3 separate regions of the Homo sapiens genome follow, and regions 1 and 2 are each linked to region 3. The links are contacts of gene promoters, found by promoter capture Hi-C in blood cells and fetal thymus (Javierre and others, 2016). All regions are on one chromosome and are shown on one strand. The core of a region is centred on a gene start or on the middle of the fragment in contact, and the rest is flanking DNA. Distances in the headings are between cores, read along the strand shown. Region 1 overlaps LOC105373417 (a long non-coding RNA gene). Region 2 overlaps ASAP2 (ArfGAP with SH3 domain, ankyrin repeat and PH domain 2). Region 3 holds the start of ASAP2 (ArfGAP with SH3 domain, ankyrin repeat and PH domain 2).

Region 1 (3,394 bases), core at 281-2,780, 64 kb before region 3:
GTGCTTCCCTGGCCCCAACCCCCTCTTCCCTCAGACTCCTAACAGGATGGAGTCAGGGAAACAGGATCAACACACCTGGGGGTCCAGCCTGTAGAGCGTCGGCAGGGAGGGTCATCGCTGGCTTTTACTGGGCACTCACTGTGTGGATGGGGTTTGAAGTCAACCTGACCAGGGATTGAATCTTGGCTTACCTTAGCTGTGTGATCCTGGGCAAGTCGCTTTACCTCTCTGAGTCTTGGCTTTCTGCTGTGTAAAATAAGGACAAATAACCTCTATCTTGCTGGGTTGTGGTTCAGATTAGAGAGAATTGTGCAGAATGTCAGGTACAGCAATGGGTTTCCAGACTTTAGGCCTGTGGGAAGTCAGCCTCAGAATCTCCTGGGAAACTTCTTATCAAACACAGATTCCTGTAACCTGCTCTCAGAGATTCTGATCAAATTCACCTGGCCAGTTTCAGCTACACCTGCTGAACTATTTACCGAACTATTTACAGCTCTCCAAATGCACTATAGCACTTCTTACCACTATGCCTTTGTACACACAGTTCCCCCATCTAGAGGCCCTTCCCCCTTTGATTGGAAAACTCCTAGTCATCCTTCAAAACCCAGCTGAAATGTCTCCCCATTGATGAAGACTTTCCTAACCATGCCCTCATCTCCCAGTACTCGCTTCTTTGCCAGATCAGTTGTTATGACATGAATAAGAAGTATAATTACCTTCCATTTAGTGAATCTATTATGTACCTCTCATTTCACATACTGTATCTTAACAATAGTTACGCCAAGTACTAATTATTAGCCCTGTTTCCCTGTTTACATATGAAAAAGCTGAGTCTCTGAGGGCTTAAGCAGCTTGCCCTCAGTCCCACAGCTGATAGGGGACAAAGCCAGAACCCCACGCTACTGAGCCCCGAATCTCTAGCTCTGGTCCTTATGGTCTTGGTCTGCCTTCCCCTCAGCACGTGAGCCTGCAGATGTCGGAGCCCAGGGTGTGCATTCATCGCATTCATCTCTTTTTTTTTTTTTTTTTTTTTGAGACGAAGCTTCGCTCTTGCCCAGGCTGAAATGCAATGGCGCGATCTCGACTCACTGCAACCTTTGCCTCCCGGCTTCAAGCAATTCTCCTACCTCAGCCTCCCGAGTTGCTGGGATTACAAGCGTGCGCCACCATGCCCGGCTAATTCTTTTTATTTTTAGTACAGAAGGGGTTTCACCATGTTGGCTAGGCTGATCTTGAACTCCTGACCTCAGGTGATCCGCCCACCTCAGTCTCCCAAAGTGCCGGGATTACAGGCGTGAGCCACCGCGCCGGGCCTAGGGTTAGGGTTCATTCACCTCTGAGTCCTCATCAGCACATTCCCTGATGCGCAAACAGCAGGGAACCCTAAGTGTCGGTCCCTATCTCCTAGGTCCACACCGCCTTCCGTCACACCAGGCTCTCTCCAGACTGGCTGAGAGGGTGGAGCTGGGAGCCTCTGAGGCTGGTAAGCCGCGTGCCTTTGGAGGGTGGGGTAACAAGCAGGGCCTCTCCTAAGGAGGGCTTCCCCGGCCTTCCTTCCTCGGGGCGCAGCATCGACATTCGCCACCAGGGGGTGCTGCCGCACCGTTCCCGGCGCCGCCTCTGCCCCGCGAGGGACTGGGGCGTTTTCCACCGGGCGCGTGTCTGGGGCTGTGACTCAGAATCCTCAAACTCAGAGTTCGCAGACGGAGGAACTCATGCTCAAACGTCTGAACAAAAATATACAGAGCATGAAATTTTTACTCCAGAAATAGTGCACCTCTCTCCCCCTTGGGGAAAAGCGTTTTCCCTACTTCCGTAGGAGTTAACTCGCCAAGGCTTTTAGGAGACGCCGCACAGCTGTGCTCCCGCTCGTTGAAAAAAAGATGCCAAAAGTGTAGAATTTGACCACAAACAACCGAGCTTCACAACGGAGTGTGGCTTGTGTGCCAGGCCCTGTGCTGGGGGTGCAAAAGGCCCCCCGTGTCCAGCCTGGCAGCAGTGACTTCGGGGTCCCTCCTGCAAGCTTGGCTACAGGTGTTCAATCTTACTGACATATTTTACAAATATAGCTACATTTTTCCAGCCCAAATTCAGTACACATGACCTAGCAAAGCATTCCAGAGGCAAACGGCTTTCTAGGAAGTGTAGCTTAGGCACCTAAATGCTGGCATTCTGGGGCTGATGGCGTACGGGAGCCATGAGCAGAGGGTTTGAAAACGGACCTGTCTGGAAAGCCCAGGTCAGAGGGTCCCAAGAGCAGGGCTGGGCAGGCCCCAGATGCCTCCCTTGTAGGGGATTCTGGGGTCTCCTCCCCTCATAGACCCTTCTCCTCCACGAAGCTTCTTCCGGGGGCCAGAGCAAAGTCCCTCTTCTGTCTGGCATTCCACCCAAGCCGCCTCCTTTTCTGTCTGCACCTTCTCCTGGGAAATCTCATTCAAGTCCATGGCCTTAAGCCTCTATCAAGGATGCCCCTAAGGCCGGGTGCAGTAGCTCACGCCTGTAATCCCAGCACTTTGGGAGTCTGAGGCGGGTGGATGGATCACCTGAGGTCAGGAGTTCAAGACCAGCCTGGCCAACATGGTGAAACCCCATCTGTACTAAAAATACAAAAAATTAGCCGGGCATAGTGGCGCACACCTGTAATCCCAGCTACTTGGGAGGCTGAGGCAGGAGAATCGCTTGAACCCGGGAGGCGGAGGTTACAGTGAGCCAAGATTGTACCACTGCACTCCAGCCTGGGCCACAGAGCAAGACTCCATCTCAAAAAACAAAACAAAACAAAAAGCAAAGATGTTCCTAAGACACCATTACTGAACATATAGACCAGTAAATAACAATGATTACACAAATCACATGATAAATTGCATAACACCACACACACACACCACACACATCACACACACACCACACACACACACACACACCCCCCACACACACACCACACACACCACACACACACACCACACACTGTGAACCTAAAAGTGTCTGAGACACCCAATCAATCTGGAAAGTTTATTTTGCCAGTGTTAAAGACACACCCATGTTACAGCCTCAGGAGGCCCTGAGGTCATGTACCCAAGTGGTGGGGGCACAGCTTGCTTTCATACATTTTAGGGAGACACGAGACATCAATCAATATATGTAAGATGTACATTGGTTCGCTCCCCTAAGGCAGGACAACTTGAAGTTGGGGGAACTTCCAGGTCATGGGTAGATAAGAAACAAAAGGTTATTTTGGGTCTTTGATCAGCCTTTCATTGAATACACAATTTACGTGGGAGGACGGAGTAGAGGAATAGTCACTTAGGCCTTAGTCTGACTCAGTGAACCTGCGTTTTTATTTTAAAATAGGGCAGAAGAAGCCATCAGATATGCATTTGTCTCCGGTGAGCAG
Region 2 (3,085 bases), core at 9-2,508, 34 kb after region 3:
TTTCTAAGTTGAATTCTTTTCCCTGTCCTGCTACTTTTGGGGTGGTTTATGGAAAGAAATTAAGTCAGGGTGAAAAAACTAGTCAACTTCTTAGAGCAATGTAGATAAGATTTTCACAGTTGATCTTCACAGACTTATCTAAATACTGAAGCCCCATTATCCCTGGGGGGTATGTTCCAAGACCCTCGGTGGATGCCTGCAGCCAGCTAATATTGAACTAGTTTGCCTTCAATCACGACATGTCTCTGTTCATGTCATGTCTTCCTCCCATAATTTTTTTTTTTTTTTTTTTTTTATTTGAGACAGGGTCTCACTCTGTCACCCAGGCTGGAGTGCAGTGGCGCCATCACGGCTCACTGCAGCCACCATTTCCTGGGCCCAGGTGATCCTCCCACATCCACCTCCCCGGTAGCTGGGATCACAGGCATGCACCACCATGCCAAGCTAATTTTTTGTAGAGATGGGGTTTCTCCATGTTTCCCAGGCTGGTCTCAAACTCCTGGACTGGAGCGATTCACCTGCCTTGGCCTCCCAGAGTGCTGAGGTTTCAGGTGTGAGCCACCGTGCCCAGCCCCTCCCAAAAGTTAATGATTTTTCCATCATAACTAAGCACTTGCCACGCACCACGGCCGTAGCTTTTGCAGTTTGAGATGTGAAGGCAAAGCTAGCATGAGTTTATTTTTTTCTTCTTTACCATTTCATGAATAGAAGACCCACTTTTCCCTTAGATCTTAGCAACCTCAGCATAGGAATTTTTCCTTAAGTCAAGGAGTTTCATCTTTTTACTTAAAGGAAGTGCTGTATGATTTCTCCTTGGCATATCTGCATTACCAGCATCTAGGGTTCTTGTGCTCTGGGACCATTATTATGTAAAAAATAAGGGTTACTTGAACACAGGCTCTGCAATACTGGGACAATCATCTCATAACCTAGGCAGCTACTAGGTGACTCATGGGCAGGTAGCATGGACCTTGTGGTTCTGCCAGACAAAGGGAGGAGTCACGTCCCGCGTGGGAGGCAGGACGGTGTGAGATTTCATCTCTTGACATAGAACAGCAAGCAATTTAAAAGTTATGAATTGCTTATTTCTGGACTTTTCTGTGGAATATTTTTGGACTGTGGTTAGTGGAAACTGTGGAAAATGAAACTGTGGATAAGAGGGTAGTACTGTATCTGGATGAGTCCAAAAACACATTCTAAGATGAAATATTATTAGCTCACATATTTATCTTTTAGGATACAATCTTTCTTAATTTAGCATGTGTGCTGGAAGATATTTTGTCAGTATTAAGTAATGCTGCAGAATTTTGGTTGAACTGTTGTGCATGTAGAACATTAATTCTTTGTTTTCCTGATAGTTTTTGGTGAGAGGTTTTCTGGGAAGTCATTGTCCTATTACCACTTTGCATGCTAAACTGGTGCGATTATGAGTTCCTTATCCATATCAGGGTTGGGGATGTACATACATACATGAAAATCAAACTGGCTGGGTGTGGTGGCTCATGCCTATAATCCCAGCACACTGGGAGGCCAAAGAAGCAGGAGGATCACTTGAGCCCAGGAGTTCGAGACCAGCCTGGGAAACATGGCGAAACCCCATCTTTTACCCAGGCATGGTGGCGCCGTGATCGCACCACTGCACTCCAGCCTGGAGTCTCAAACCAGGCTCAAACAACAACAAAAAACTAATTGCTTTAAGTAAATGTTCATGCCTCACCAAAGATATGTACTGTAATTTTCCTATTGTGGATATGTATATTTTCAACTCCTCCAACATTAGTGAGTATATGCCAGACACTGTGCTAAGTCAAGGAAAGCGAGGAGAAGGAAAGGGATGGCATTTTGATCTGGACCTGAAAGGTTGAATCTAATAAGTGAGAAGAGAACTCAGGACCTGGCAGGTGGAGGATTACATGGTTGCACATGTTAGGGTCCCAATAAGTTTAGGGGAGCATGTTAGACAGATTAAGAACTTTGTTATCAGGCGGACACATGTGAATTTCACACCTGGTTTTACTACTTGGTAACTGTACTTCTGGGCAAGTTGGTTAGCTTCTTCGAGCACTAGTTTCCTCATGTGAAGCAAGGAGGAGAAGGCATAACATGTACCTCACAGGCGTTCGTTGTGTTTGCTATCTTGGAAGAGAGGGGGGAGGTCTGTGCTCTGTGCTGGAATGAAACTTTTTTTTTATTTGGCCAGACAGTGATGGTAGGCATTCTTTGGACCGTGATCTTAGGGGCGCATGCTTTGGCGGTTTACAGATAGAGATCTGACCTGGTCCATGGGAAGTGCAGATTCAGTTCCTTGCTGACACTGTCAGGAGCTCTTCCATCACCTAGCCTTGTGCCAGCACACTGGTGGTGCTTGGTAAATGTTTGTTGAATAAGTGCACTAAGGTTTCACTGTAACCTCTAGTGATCTGCTTCTAGAAGCCTTTTCTTCTGGTAGGGTCACACCTAGAGGAATTGGATGCTACAAACTGTGATAGACCCAGTACCATACTCTAGCTGCTGTGTCTAGCTTGACAGGGATGGGCACTTGCGGTGCCCTCAGCCTGGCTTGAAGTTGACATCTTGTATTGGGCGGTGTGTGGGCTCTGTTCCCTGAGTCTTCATCCTGAAACTGCTGGGGCTGATAGCTGGTCGCGGGATCACCTTTCAAAGGAACGCAGTCCAGAGGCCTTTGCTTCCTCAGGATGGATTCAAGGAGAGAATCCTCAGCTGATCATCATTTTATCCCATTTTTTCTGTTTCCTTTACTGTTCCAACTTTTCTTTCTTTTCTCACCTCCTTTATGGAGGAAAATTGCCGTCTGGGGAAGCATGATGCTGGGGAAGTAGGTTTTGATTGTCCGATGATTGTCAGGTGAGACTATTACACGTGTTCAGACCATTGGGTGTAAGACATTGGTGCACATTAGCTCCTGCTTTGATATAACTGAGGCCCAGTAACAACAAATTTTTGCTCAAAAAAAGAGGCATAAGCAGCGTTGTGTGCTTTCTTTATTTTGGCCTACCCTGCATGATGGCTTTAAGTATTATCGGGAGAAGAAGCATACGGATTAACAAAGATGTGTACTTCACTT
Region 3 (3,196 bases), core at 68-2,567:
GAAAGTTAAATTTTACATGCAGTGCTACTAAAATACCAAAGGCCATACATAATGTCTGACCCAAGCTGCCACCTCATATAGCAACTTCTTACATGGGGGCTTTAAAAAGATTGTTTGACTGGTCTACTGTCCTGCAGTGTCAGGAGACGGCTTTGTCTGACATATTGAATTTCCAGTGTCTCTCACACTTCCTCCTTTTCAGATGCACAAAAGGTTTTTGTAAAGTTTCTCTTGGTTTTACCGCTGGCAGCTACAGAAACCATGCCACAAGTCTGGTGTAGAGTTATAGGGTGTGATTTTATTTGACTGGTATCTTCAGAGCTTCTGGATTTTTCAGTATAACCGAGAATTTCCTTAAGAGCTGTAAATAAAAATCGGTACCAGTTCGAACCCTTTACTGGCCCGGTTTTGTGTGAGGTTGGCTGGCTGCTGTAGCACGTTCTCCCCCTCCTCCTCCTCCTGCACCCCCTCGGTTCCCTCCTCTGCCTGCGGGAATACCACTTCAGGGCGTTCAGCAGCCTTCCCAGGGTGGGTCCTGGCCTAGTACCCTAAAACTATAACCGAGAATACCTATCATTGGGCAGCCTAGGAAACGCGACTGGGACTTTTAGTAGGGGCCCCTCACCGCTCTGAAGCACTCACACTTGAGTCAGGGAACATGGGTTTGAATCCCCACCCGGCCGTTTATCTTGTGCTCTTGGGCACACTGTGTCCCCTATATAAAATAAGCACCCATCTCTTCATCTGTCTCCTAGGCCTGCGACGATGCAATGACTGCACGCAAAGCGCACATTCACGGTCAGGTCACTTCTGGCGTCCGGCTGTGGTCCCCGCAGGGTGCCCGCCGGCGGAGCGCATCCTCCGGCAGGGGGCGAGCTCCGCACCCCGCTTTCCTCATGGGCCGGCGCGGCCCGCCGTTCAAGTGGGGAGCCCAGAGGTGCTCCGCGCCGTGGGCGGGGGGCGGTTGGCGCGCACAAGGCCGGACTCCGGCGGGGCGCACCTCCACACGCACCCTCGCGGGCAGCGGGTCGGAGTCGGGGCCTCGGGCCGGCTGGGGGCGGGGCATGGGCGCGGCGCGCGGGGCCCGGAACGCCGAGACAATGCGGCGCGCGGCGGCCAGGAACGGCTCGGCGGGCCGGGGCGCGCGCCGCCTTCCTTCCTGCGGGATCCGCTTCCCGGCGGCGCGGCAGCGGCGAGCGCGCCGATTGGCGGCCCGGTCCTCCCGCCGCCCCGCCCCACGCCCGGCCGGCCGCCGCCCCCGGCCCGGACCCGCCCCTCTCCGCGGGAGGCGTCGGGGCCCGCGGCTGGGTGGCGGGTAGTTCCCGCCGGCTGTGCGCGCCCGCCTCGGGGCTCGCTCTGAGAGGACGCGGCGGCAGCGGACTCGGAGCCCTCGGCGCGCAGGCGGGCGGACCGGCCGAGCTGCGCGGGGCTGCGCGCCGCCCCTGCTCCGCCGCCAGGCCCCGCGCGGCTCCCGCGCCCGGCGCTCCCCTTTGTCCGCGGGCCGGAGCGGCGGCGGCAGCGGCGGTGTCCGAGCGGCGGTCGGAGCCTGCTGCGGCAGTTGAGGCGGCGGCGCCCCTGCGGCTGTGCGCCAGCGCCCTCGCGCCGAGGCGATGCCGGACCAGATCTCCGTGTCGGAATTCGTGGCCGAGACCCATGAGGACTACAAGGCGCCCACGGCCTCCAGCTTCACCACCCGCACGGCGCAGTGCCGGAACACTGTGGCGGCCATCGAGGAGGTGAGGCGGCCTGCGCGGCGGCTCCGGCCGCAGGTATCCCGCGCCCCAGCCCCGCCCGCCGCTCCCGCATCCGCATCCCGAGAAAACTTTCTTTGCTCCGAAGCCGGACGCGGCCGGGCCAACCCTGCCCGAGACAGAAGCCCTTTGTTCCCGCCTAGGTGGCTCGGAGGAGATGGGTGATGGCCACCTTGGGCCTCTTTAAGACCTCCCCTCTCTCGGCCTCGTGGCCCTCGCGGGGTTCCGCGGCCTGGTCTTTTCCCCGCAGCGCGGCCAACTTTGTCCAGAGTCGGGGTCCGCGGCGAGCGGGGGATCCCGCTGCCCGCCGCCGCCCGCCGCCGCCCGGGGTCTTTGGTACCCGGTGCGGACCTTATCAACTTGTTCTTGAAGTGGACCGGCGGGGGCAGCTCCGCGCTCCGAGCTCCCCGCCGCAGCCCCCGAGCGCCGCAGGGCCCCCACCCTCGGGTCCGCGGGTCCGGGGCATCCCGGGCTGCCCGGGAAGGCGTGCCCGCCTCAGCCAGGGCGGCCTGGCTGCGCTCCACCCGTGCCCGGAGAAGGAACTGCGGGCAAGGTGTGTGAGAGTCGGCGCTTCTGGGTCCAAGAAGCCTCCAGGAGCCGCTCCCCGGTTACCTGGGTCTCACCTGCTTGAACCCGGAATGCCGCCCTTCCCCCTCAACCTGGAAAAGGCCTGGTTTTAGTAAAGTGCTCTCAAGGTGCAAAGTCATCACGCCTAGCTGCTAAGCAGTACGCTCTCCAGGTCCTGGGGAGAGGAACACGTAGGAACGAAGAAGCTTGGTTGAAAATTAAAGCCGTGGGGAAAGGGGCAGAGTCTGTGAGTCCAGGGGCCACCGTTGGCTGTGGTTTGAGGCACATCCTCACCTGCAGTCCTCCTTTTCCTTACCCATCAAACGGGATTAGTAATGCATCCTTTCCAGGATCAGAGACTGTGTGAAGTGCTTAGCACTCTGCTCGGCTCAGAATAGGTTTACAAGTCACACGTGTGGCAATAGTGAATCTGTGATTAAATGTCTCTGGGCCAGGATGTCAGGTTACAGTTTTAAAATTGGGTATTGCAGGTGTTTTAGCAGAAGACGCCTGGGCTAGCAGGAGTGTGTGTGTGGGTGGGGGGGTGGGTGTCACCAAAGAGCTTTAAATGAAGCAATGGCGTTATTTTTTTTTTCTGGTTTTTTTTTTTTTTTCCCATTTGAACAAAGCATCTGCTATTAGGAATTGCTTGAAAAAAAATCCAGAATGTTTTCCCTTAATGGAAAAATTTTTTCTTTGTAGCTGTAAACAGTCAATAAAAGGGAGTCAAAAGTAACATTCAGCATTCTGAATCCTGTTAATATAACTTGGGTAGCCTTCCTTCTCTCCATTTAATTTGGCGGAAGAGAGCTGCATGTAAACCTTTCCTATGAATTCGGTGATTCCCCAGATCACTTAATTCTACTTTTAGCAGCAAG

What was found. Contacts are between HindIII fragments. The CHiCAGO score rates a contact against its expected background, and 5 or more counts as called.
Region 1: a fragment that was not itself captured here is called in contact with the fragment with the promoter of ASAP2 in region 3 in 2 of 17 cell types (megakaryocytes and endothelial precursors); the score reaches 9.9 in megakaryocytes.
Region 2: a fragment that was not itself captured here is called in contact with the fragment with the promoter of ASAP2 in region 3 in 1 of 17 cell types (endothelial precursors); the score reaches 5.1 in endothelial precursors.

What each region holds. Positions count from the first base shown.
Region 1 is chr2:9,141,313-9,144,706 of GRCh38, forward strand. All of the region lies in intron 1 of LOC105373417 (a long non-coding RNA gene), which reads right to left. Among named protein-coding and RNA genes, the nearest start is that of ASAP2, 64 kb to the right of the region's middle. RefSeq lists enhancers at 710-1,607, 1,724-1,803. The HindIII fragment of the contact is 981 bases long and covers 1,041-2,021 here.
Region 2 is chr2:9,239,973-9,243,057 of GRCh38, forward strand. All of the region lies in intron 1 of ASAP2 (ArfGAP with SH3 domain, ankyrin repeat and PH domain 2), which reads left to right. Among named protein-coding and RNA genes, the nearest start is that of ASAP2, 35 kb to the left of the region's middle. The HindIII fragment of the contact is 4,856 bases long and covers 1-3,085 here.
Region 3 is chr2:9,205,495-9,208,690 of GRCh38, forward strand. It overlaps ASAP2 (ArfGAP with SH3 domain, ankyrin repeat and PH domain 2), which reads left to right and starts at 1,318. Exons shown (of 28, transcript NM_003887.3): 1 at 1,318-1,736. The coding sequence starts at 1,611. RefSeq lists enhancers at 467-1,399, 1,400-2,330 and silencers at 848-1,107, 854-1,037. The HindIII fragment of the contact is 2,916 bases long and covers 1-2,522 here.